3 separate regions of the Homo sapiens genome follow, and all the other regions are linked to region 2. The links are contacts of gene promoters, found by promoter capture Hi-C in blood cells and fetal thymus (Javierre and others, 2016). All regions are on one chromosome and are shown on one strand. Each heading gives the region's core, a stretch centred on a gene start or on the middle of the fragment in contact. The rest is flanking DNA. Distances are from core to core; before and after follow the strand shown.

What was found. The method cuts DNA at HindIII sites, captures the fragments that hold promoters and counts their contacts. A CHiCAGO score of 5 or more calls a contact.
Region 1: a contact is called between a fragment that was not itself captured here and the fragment with the promoter of CSNK2A3 in region 2, in 1 of 17 cell types (endothelial precursors). The highest score is 7.4, in endothelial precursors.
Region 3: a contact is called between a fragment that was not itself captured here and the fragment with the promoter of CSNK2A3 in region 2, in 1 of 17 cell types (endothelial precursors). The highest score is 5.1, in endothelial precursors.

Annotation. Positions count from the first base shown.
Region 1 is chr11:11,591,529-11,594,228 of GRCh38, reverse strand. The region is part of intron 1 of GALNT18 (polypeptide N-acetylgalactosaminyltransferase 18); the gene reads left to right. Among named protein-coding and RNA genes, the nearest start is that of GALNT18-AS1, 23 kb to the right of the region's middle. The HindIII fragment of the contact is 1,200 bases long and covers 783-1,982 here.
Region 2 is chr11:11,351,919-11,354,618 of GRCh38, reverse strand. CSNK2A3 (casein kinase 2 alpha 3) reads left to right here and starts at 1,369. Exons shown (of 1, transcript NM_001256686.2): 1 at 1,369-2,677. The coding sequence starts at 1,500. The coding sequence ends at 2,675. All of the region lies in intron 6 of GALNT18 (polypeptide N-acetylgalactosaminyltransferase 18), which reads left to right. The HindIII fragment of the contact is 3,495 bases long and covers 1,009-2,700 here.
Region 3 is chr11:11,571,227-11,574,051 of GRCh38, reverse strand. All of the region lies in intron 1 of GALNT18 (polypeptide N-acetylgalactosaminyltransferase 18), which reads left to right. It overlaps GALNT18-AS1 (GALNT18 antisense RNA 1), which reads right to left. Exons shown (of 2, transcript XR_007062595.1): 2 at 275-527. Among named protein-coding and RNA genes, the nearest start is that of GALNT18-AS1, 2.7 kb to the right of the region's middle. The HindIII fragment of the contact is 1,874 bases long and covers 355-2,228 here.

The DNA.
Region 1 (2,700 bases), core at 133-2,632, 240 kb before region 2:
GAAAGCATTTCTGCATTTAAGACTTCTGGAATGAGGTCCCTCTGGACAGGAAGCACAGATACCAATGAACTGTGGCCACCTGGACCTGACATTCTTCTAAAAAAATACTGTGCTTTCTCCTCTCTCTCATGTATAGATACACAAATGCACATACACAGAGTCTGGCACAGAGTGAAAACTACCTTCAATTCCAAAACGGAGAATCTACTATGTAGCCTAGCAAAGCAGAAAGGAGCTGAGAAGCAAGAGAAAAGCATCCTTCATCTAAATCTCTATGAATCCACAAAGTACAAACATGAAGACCAATTCTTTGAAAAGCCAAATGCAAGGCAGGGGAATCATATTCCAATGAGCATGAGGCTCATATGAAAATTTTATGTTCCAAGGGTCATCTTGGAACTTGACAGTGCAATTGAGAAAGGCTGGAAATTTTTATTTTATTTTACTTTATTTTATTGTTTTGTTAGAAATGGGGTCTTGCTGTGTTACCCAGGCTGGTCTCAAACTCCTGGCCTCAAGCCATTCTCCTGCCTCTGCCTCACACAGCACTGGGGTTAGGGGCATGAGCCACCATATTGGACTAAAGCCTGGAAATTTTTAAAGGGTGACAATCACTTATAAGAAGCCTCTGGAAATGGTAGAAAAAAAAATTAGATGTGGTCTGGCTATAAAGCATCTTGCTAACATTTGGACACGTGGACAAAAAGGAACAAAGTTCCTCACGCATCTTATAGCCCCTTTGTTAACATCAGTGTCTGTTTGCAGAGAAGGAAGGCCAAGCTTCATAGTACCTTTCAGAAACTGGGAAAACTGAGGAAAGGATTTAGTATGGGCTTCTCACCTCATAGATTTTTTTAGACTCATGAGCTGACAAAGTACCAAGAATGGCTTGAGACCCTCTATTCCAGGGTCCGCAAACTGAAATGCTAGGCAGGCAACGTAAATGGGTGGTATGGGTTTGTTATGATAGAACAGGGCACAGTTATAACCTGTAGAGAAGTAAAGACTGTACGTCTTGCCTAAAGGGAGCTGCATTGGACAGACTTAAAACGAAGCGGGAGGCCGAGGCGGGCGGATCACGAGGTCAGGATATCGAGACCATCCTGGCTAACACGGTGAAACCCCGTCTCCACTAAAAATACAAAAAATTAGCCGAGCGTTGGGGGGTGCCTGTAGTCCCAGCTACTCAGGAGGCTGAGGCAGGAGAATGGCGTGAACCCGAGAGGCGCAGCTTGCAGTGAGCTGAGATTGCGCCACTGCACTCCAGCCTGGGAGACAGAGACAAAAACAAAAAACAAACAGAAAAAAACAACGCGAAGCATGGGCGTCCTCTGTTCTGGTCTGACCCTTAGCATTTTATCTACAAGAAAGGTAACCAGAGGCCTTAAGAAGGAAATGACTTGGTTAAATTGACAGAATATCTTGCCTTCTCTTTATACTTTGAAGATATGTCAAAAAATTTTCAGTATGGGCCCCAGACTGCCTAATAAATCAGCCCCTTTCCTGTTTTTTGGCTTTTCAAAGAGTTGGAACTCCCAAATGTGCTTTGGGGAGTGGTGGGATTTTTACATGAAGGATGTTCCCACTGTTTCTCACCATCTTTCTGGTTTTCTAAGAAGGAATGGCGGTTTATACCCTTTTTCGTAACTGAAAGTTGTTTTGAGCTTGTGCCAGACCCAGGGCGTGTGCTGTGTGTGGGGGTAAGGTGAGGGAGCATGGTTCTGCCAGGGAGCCATGGTAGGAACTTGAGGGAGTGAACCCCTTATTTGGCTGGAGGTATTATTTGCCTGGAAAGTGGAGGACAGTTGCGGGAAGGATGAATTGCTCAAACATTATCTAGAAAACTCAGTCCACTTCCTTGCAGGAACAGCATGTCAATATGTTTTTGTCTGCTGGACAATGTGTGGGAAACATCTTTGATTTTTTTTCGTAACCGTGCATATAATTTCTTAGCATTTCACTTCCGGGCATTGATTAAAGCTTTTCTGTCTCTTTAGAGTCATTAAATAGAAAAACGCCTGCCAGAGACAGATTGATGATGTTTCTAGGGACTTGCTTAGAGAAATAGGAATCTCCTTAACTTGCTGAAAAGTTTTTCTGGTTTGTGCCAAATAGCTAGCATTTATTGAGTTTTATTACATGCCAGGTACCATGCTAAATGCTATGCACAAATTATCTCACTTTATCTTCACAGCAACAAACTGAGATATGCTATTATTATCCCCTTTTTCTATTATAAAATTGAGGCACAGAAACATTAAATCATGTATCTGAGGTCACTCAGTCAGCATGTGTTGGGATAGGAATTGACTCTATGTGGTCTGATCTTGAGGACTGTGTTACATCAAACTCAAAACCCTTAAATCTTCATAACATCTAATCACAGCTGGGTATTGGCTTTCAAGATTATAGGTGTGTTCTCAGGACCCAAATCTGATAATGTGTGTATTTTTGTCCCTTCAAAGGGTATGGGAGCACATCTGTATGGCTGGGCTCATTGTATTTCCATCTGGCACTAAAGAAAATGCACTTCTATTACTATCTCAGCCTCCTTTAACCACATACATTCACCCAGGAGGGAGCATTTCCATAAAGTTGTTTTAAAATGACAGCAGGACTCACTGGGGGGGCTGCTTTCCTTGTGGGCAGAATGACTGTAGTTGGAGATGTAAAGTAGGAAGAGAAATGGAGGCTGTTATG
Region 2 (2,700 bases), core at 120-2,619:
GGCCTCTAAACTTCTTCCAGGTGATGAAATAAACTGTCTCTGTGTATTACTTCATTTAATTCTCACAGCAACTATCTTTGGAATTTATCACTTTTATCTCCATTTCATAGACAAGGAAACTGAGTGTTGGAAGGTGAAGTGAATTGCCTAAAGTCACCAGTTCAGCAAATGGGAAATGTAGGACTTGACACCAAGACTGTTTGGCCCCAGAGGCTATGCTCTGAACCATAATGACTTCCTGTCTTCCAAAAGGCAGGCTCTTGGATCCATATCTTACTGTGCTTCTAAATTATCCTGTGACCCTGAACCTTAGTTTGCTCACCTGGGAAATGAAGGGAGGTCCTGGTTAGGTTCCCTTCAGTTCTACTCTATTGCAGTATGCTGATCTCTTTTGTAAATCTGTATTAAATGAGAGTTTGCTATCGGTGACTTTCAGAGATGACACCAGTGATGATGCCCATGCTGACGATTCATTCTGATGTCTATGAAAAGAGCAAATCCTTTAAGAGAAGATGTAGCATACCAGTGTTTATAATCTGAGTTTCATTTGATTAAGAGGGGAAGCTCTTTAGAACAAATATCATTTCTGAGCGAGAGAATGTTCAGCATCTCAGCCTCATTTGTATCATTTGATAAAAGGGCCCCACTGAGCCAAGTGTGAGGATGATGCTTGAGCCAGACACATAGACACCAGACATTCCTCTGATGTCTGCTCCCCAGGCTTGGCCACATTGCCTCCCACCAACCCCATCTCAATGACACATCCATTACCTGCCATCAGTTGGCTCTATGGTGCTGGGAATGACAGAGTGTATCTACCCTGGATTTCAGAAAGAACCCTCCTGGCTTATCATGGCAACACCCTTTGGACACTCGTTTAAAGAGTCCTTCTTTGGGCCAGTGTTATCCTTTTGGGGGCATCTGGTATGGACGGCCAATTTGAATCTGACTGGGACATGCTAATGAGCCATTCATATGTGTGGGATTTGTTTCTGATTCGATTAAGCTTCAGAGAGAGGAAAGAAACAGCCACTGATTAGAGACATAAAAAAAGAAATACTTTAAGTGAGTAAGTGGTTCATCTTCATATAGGAAAGTATAAATTAAACATGGTCCAGGAGATGTGCTTTGAATAGCAGCTGGATAGCACAAGCATGTCCACAAGGAGACGGTGCCTCACAGCAATTGAAAGGGACTTAACCCCCAAAAAGGGCTCTGAATATGCTGAGTAAATAGATGAGCCCAGTTAGCTGATAAAAATGACTCTCAGATTAGAGATGGGAAGGTTTTTATTTGGATTTTAGAAAATTGCTCCCCACTCCATCGCCGCCATATTGTCTGTGTGAGCAGAAGGGAGAGCGGCCACAGCCGCTGCCGCTTCCACCACAGTGTGAAGAAAACAGGTCTGAAACAAGGTCTTACCCCCAAGCTGCTTCTGAACACAGTGACTGCCAGATCTCCAAACATCAAGTCCAGCTTTGTCCGCCAACCTGTCTGACATGTCGGGACCCGTGCCAAGCAGGGCCAGAGTTTACACAGATGTTAATACACACAGACCTCGAGAATACTGGGATTACGAGTCACATGTGGTGGAATGGGGAAATCAAGATGACTACCAGCTGGTTCGAAAATTAGGCCGAGGTAAATACAGTGAAGTATTTGAAGCCATCAACATCACAAATAATGAAAAAGTTGTTGTTAAAATTCTCAAGCCAGTAAAAAAGAAGAAAATTAAGCGTGAAATAAAGATTTTGGAGAATTTGAGAGGAGGTCCCAACATCATCACACTGGCAGACATTGTAAAAGACCCTGTGTCACGAACCCCCGCCTTGGTTTTTGAACACGTAAACAACACAGACTTCAAGCAATTGTACCAGACGTTAACAGACTATGATATTCGATTTTACATGTATGAGATTCTGAAGGCCCTGGATTATTGTCACAGCATGGGAATTATGCACAGAGATGTCAAGCCCCATAATGTCATGATTGATCATGAGCACAGAAAGCTACGACTAATAGACTGGGGTTTGGCTGAGTTTTATCATCCTGGCCAAGAATATAATGTCCGAGTTGCTTCCCGATACTTCAAAGGTCCTGAGCTACTTGTAGACTATCAGATGTACGATTATAGTTTGGATATGTGGAGATTGGGTTGTATGCTGGCAAGTATGATCTTTCGGAAGGAGCCATTTTTCCATGGACGTGACAATTATGATCAGTTGGTGAGGATAGCCAAGTTTCTGGGGACAGAAGATTTATATGGCTATATTGACAAATACAACATTGAATTAGATCCACGTTTCAATGATATCTTGGGCAGACACTCTCGAAAGCGATGGGAACGCTTTGTCCACAGTGAAAATCAGCACCTTGTCAGCCCTGAGGCCTTGGATTTCCTGGACAAACTGCTGCGATATGACCACCAGTCACGGCTTACTGCAAGAGAGGCCATGGAGCACCCCTATTTCTACACTGTTGTGAAGGACCAGGCTCGAATGGGTTCATCTAGCATGCCAGGGGGCAGTACGCCCGTCAGCAGCGCCAATGTGATGTCAGGGATTTCTTCAGTGCCAACTCCTTCACCCCTTGGACCTCTGGCAGGCTCACCAGTGATTGCTGCTGCCAACCCCCTTGGGATGCCTGTTCCAGCTGCCACTGGCGCTCAGCAGTAACGGCCCTATCTGTCTCCTGATGCCT
Region 3 (2,825 bases), core at 42-2,541, 220 kb before region 2:
ATGCTACAGTGTCATGTGGAAAGCTCAGGCTCAGGGGCCTAGATTTGAATGTCAGCTCTTTCTCAGAGTAGTTAGGTGACCTTGGGCAGCCATCCTAATTTCTCTGAACTCTGCCTTCTATAATGAGATGTTGATAGAATGAATGACCCCTCAAAATGCACCAAATGAAGATGGTGCACAGAAAGCCCCAGCACAGTGCTCAGCACCCCGCCTTCTGCAGTGGGAAGGATCGCCGTCCAGCCTCGGGAAGTCACCGTCGACGCTCATGCATGGGCATCTTCCAAGTGGGTTTATTGAGACCATGATGAGGATACAATATAGGAGATAGGATATCCCCTTCCATCTCATGAAGCTTTTGGCTGGAGAGAAATTCTTTCTCTCCTCGGAGATCCTGCTGTTTTCTAAAGATTGGTTCATAGCAGCTTCTTGTTCTCCACCAGCCTCTTGCTGATCCAGCTGGCACCTCTTCCTGGGTGGATCAAGGCTCCTGCTATCCTTTCCCCTTTGCTGGGCATCAGGTTCTGCATCTGTAAAATAAGGAAAATAAGACCTAGTCTGGCATGGTTGCTGTAAAATTTTAATATCGTTTGTGAGCAAGTTCCTGGCACCAAGTAAGTGCTCAGTTAATTGTGGCTTTTCTCCTTGGCTTGGCTGATACTTAGGTGGGCACATGTACCTTAGTGTAAGAGAAGGAGCAGGCAGAAATCCCTTTTATTTCAGTCTGCCCAGCCTTCCCACAGGCACTGTGATGCTGCGGCCCCACCCGGGGACAGAGAGCTCCATCTTCAGTATTGAAAGCTGTGTGTAGGGAATCTCTGGGACATCCATGTCAAGTATGAGTCAAGGCCGCCCACCATAATGAACATGAACATGCTCTCTGGAGGGGCGCTGTAGTTCAGAAAGGCAGGGTTTTGGAACCAGTTCAATGTGAATTCAGACCCAGTGTCCACTCCTTGCTGGCCCTGGGTTACTTTCATTAGTATCTCTGAGACCCAGGTTTCTCATCTGTAAAATGGGCTAAGATAACGTCCTCCTTCATGGGACTACTGTGAGGACTAAGAGAAGTGACCACTTGAAAGAGTTTTGCACAGAGTAGGTGCTCAGTAAATGGTAGCACCCTCTCCTCTTTGTCAAATGTACAAATTTAAGGGGCCATTGTTTTAAGACTTCTCAATATTTTTGGTCTCCAGCCTTGGCAATTCAAAATGGCAACTCATGCCCCAGTTGGAGTTGTTACTGCCATTGTGTTTTTCTTCTTTCCTGTGAGCAGAAGCTGGCGCCTGCTTCTGCATCCTAATAGTTGGCAGGAAGGCGAGGGTTGCGAGGGCCATCTGTTCCTTGTCTTCCTCAGAAGGGCACCGGGCAGCCATGTTGAATGTTCAGGGGTCCTCCTGCACCATTGCTCTGTGTAGAACTTCACATCCCAATGCTGTCAGAGAGGGACATAGCAGGAAAGCTGAATCTAAGACAGCTTCTCACACAGACACAGCACTGGCCAGGAGCGACTGTAGCGGAGCCAGGGCCCTGACTCATGCCCAAGTTCACATCCCAAGCTGGGTGTCTTTGGATTAGCTGCCTAAACTCTGTCTCGGTTATTTACCTTTAAAACAGAAATAGCAACAGTAACACACTCATACAATTTTCATGAAGACTAAGTTATTCAGGCAAAGTGCTTCATCTGGTGCTGACAGTTGATAAATGTTAATTCTTGTTATTATTTTACTCATACCACCTCCCTTGATCCCTGAAAGCCACCCAAGGAGCAAGCAGGCCGTGTATTTGTGTACCCCTCTTCTAGATAAAGAAACTGAGGCCGAGTGGTTACGTGGTCAAGGATCCCACAGAAAGGAGTGGCTAGGCCTGGATCCCGGCAAGACACTACATGCCAACAGCATCCACACCACTACTCGATGATGCCCACGCCCTGCGGCACAGGCCTGCTTGCACAGGGAGAGCTGGAGAACCAGGAAAATACAGAGTCCTGTGCCACACCTCAGATCTGCTGAATCATGCTCTTCAGTGGGGGAGCCTGGAAATCTGTATTTGTAAAGTGCTTCCCAGGGAATTCCTATGCCCAGTTAGTGTGGGGTCTGTGGTCTACACTGCTGGGCATACAGCTCACTGTGTTTCCCCAGGGCAGAGGGACAGGAAAGGGACTCTGGAATGAATAAACACCTTCACAGTCTGTAGCCAGGCAGATACTGTCGTCAGTAAGTTTTAGAGAAGCTTGTGGAAATGCAGACATAGGGTCACTTTAACACACACCAATTTTTTTTTCCAGGTCATTGGATATCTTTCTAGATAAAATAACCTCATTACGTGTTATGGGATTTGTGGAGAAAGTCTATTTAAATAGGATTGAAACATCCTTTGTCAAAATATTCTTGTCAATTAGCCTGGACATGGCTAATTGACAAGAGGTGGCCAAAGCCAGCTCAGCCCATTGCAAGGGCTCCTGGACATGCGGTTGATCTGCACAGTGGGCCTCACTGCCCAGGAAGAGGCATGTCCCACCAGAAAGCTGGTGTTCACTGGGAACTCTGACTTTGATCTGACCTAGTCATTAGAGGACTAGAGCCTTGGGGGGCTTCTGGAAGCACAGGCACCCGGACTCAGAGAGCAGAGCTAATTTTGAAGAGTTAGATTTATCACCAAATAACCTCATTTCCCAGCCTGCTGAGACACCTATTGCAGACTCATTGGTTTTCTGTTTCCACCACACAAAGTCAGGGGTTGATTCTCCAAAGACATGCCCTTGGGACCTTTTCCTTTTGTGTCTGAAGGTAGCTATACACACAGCCCAAGGGTCAGGCTGCCTGGATTGA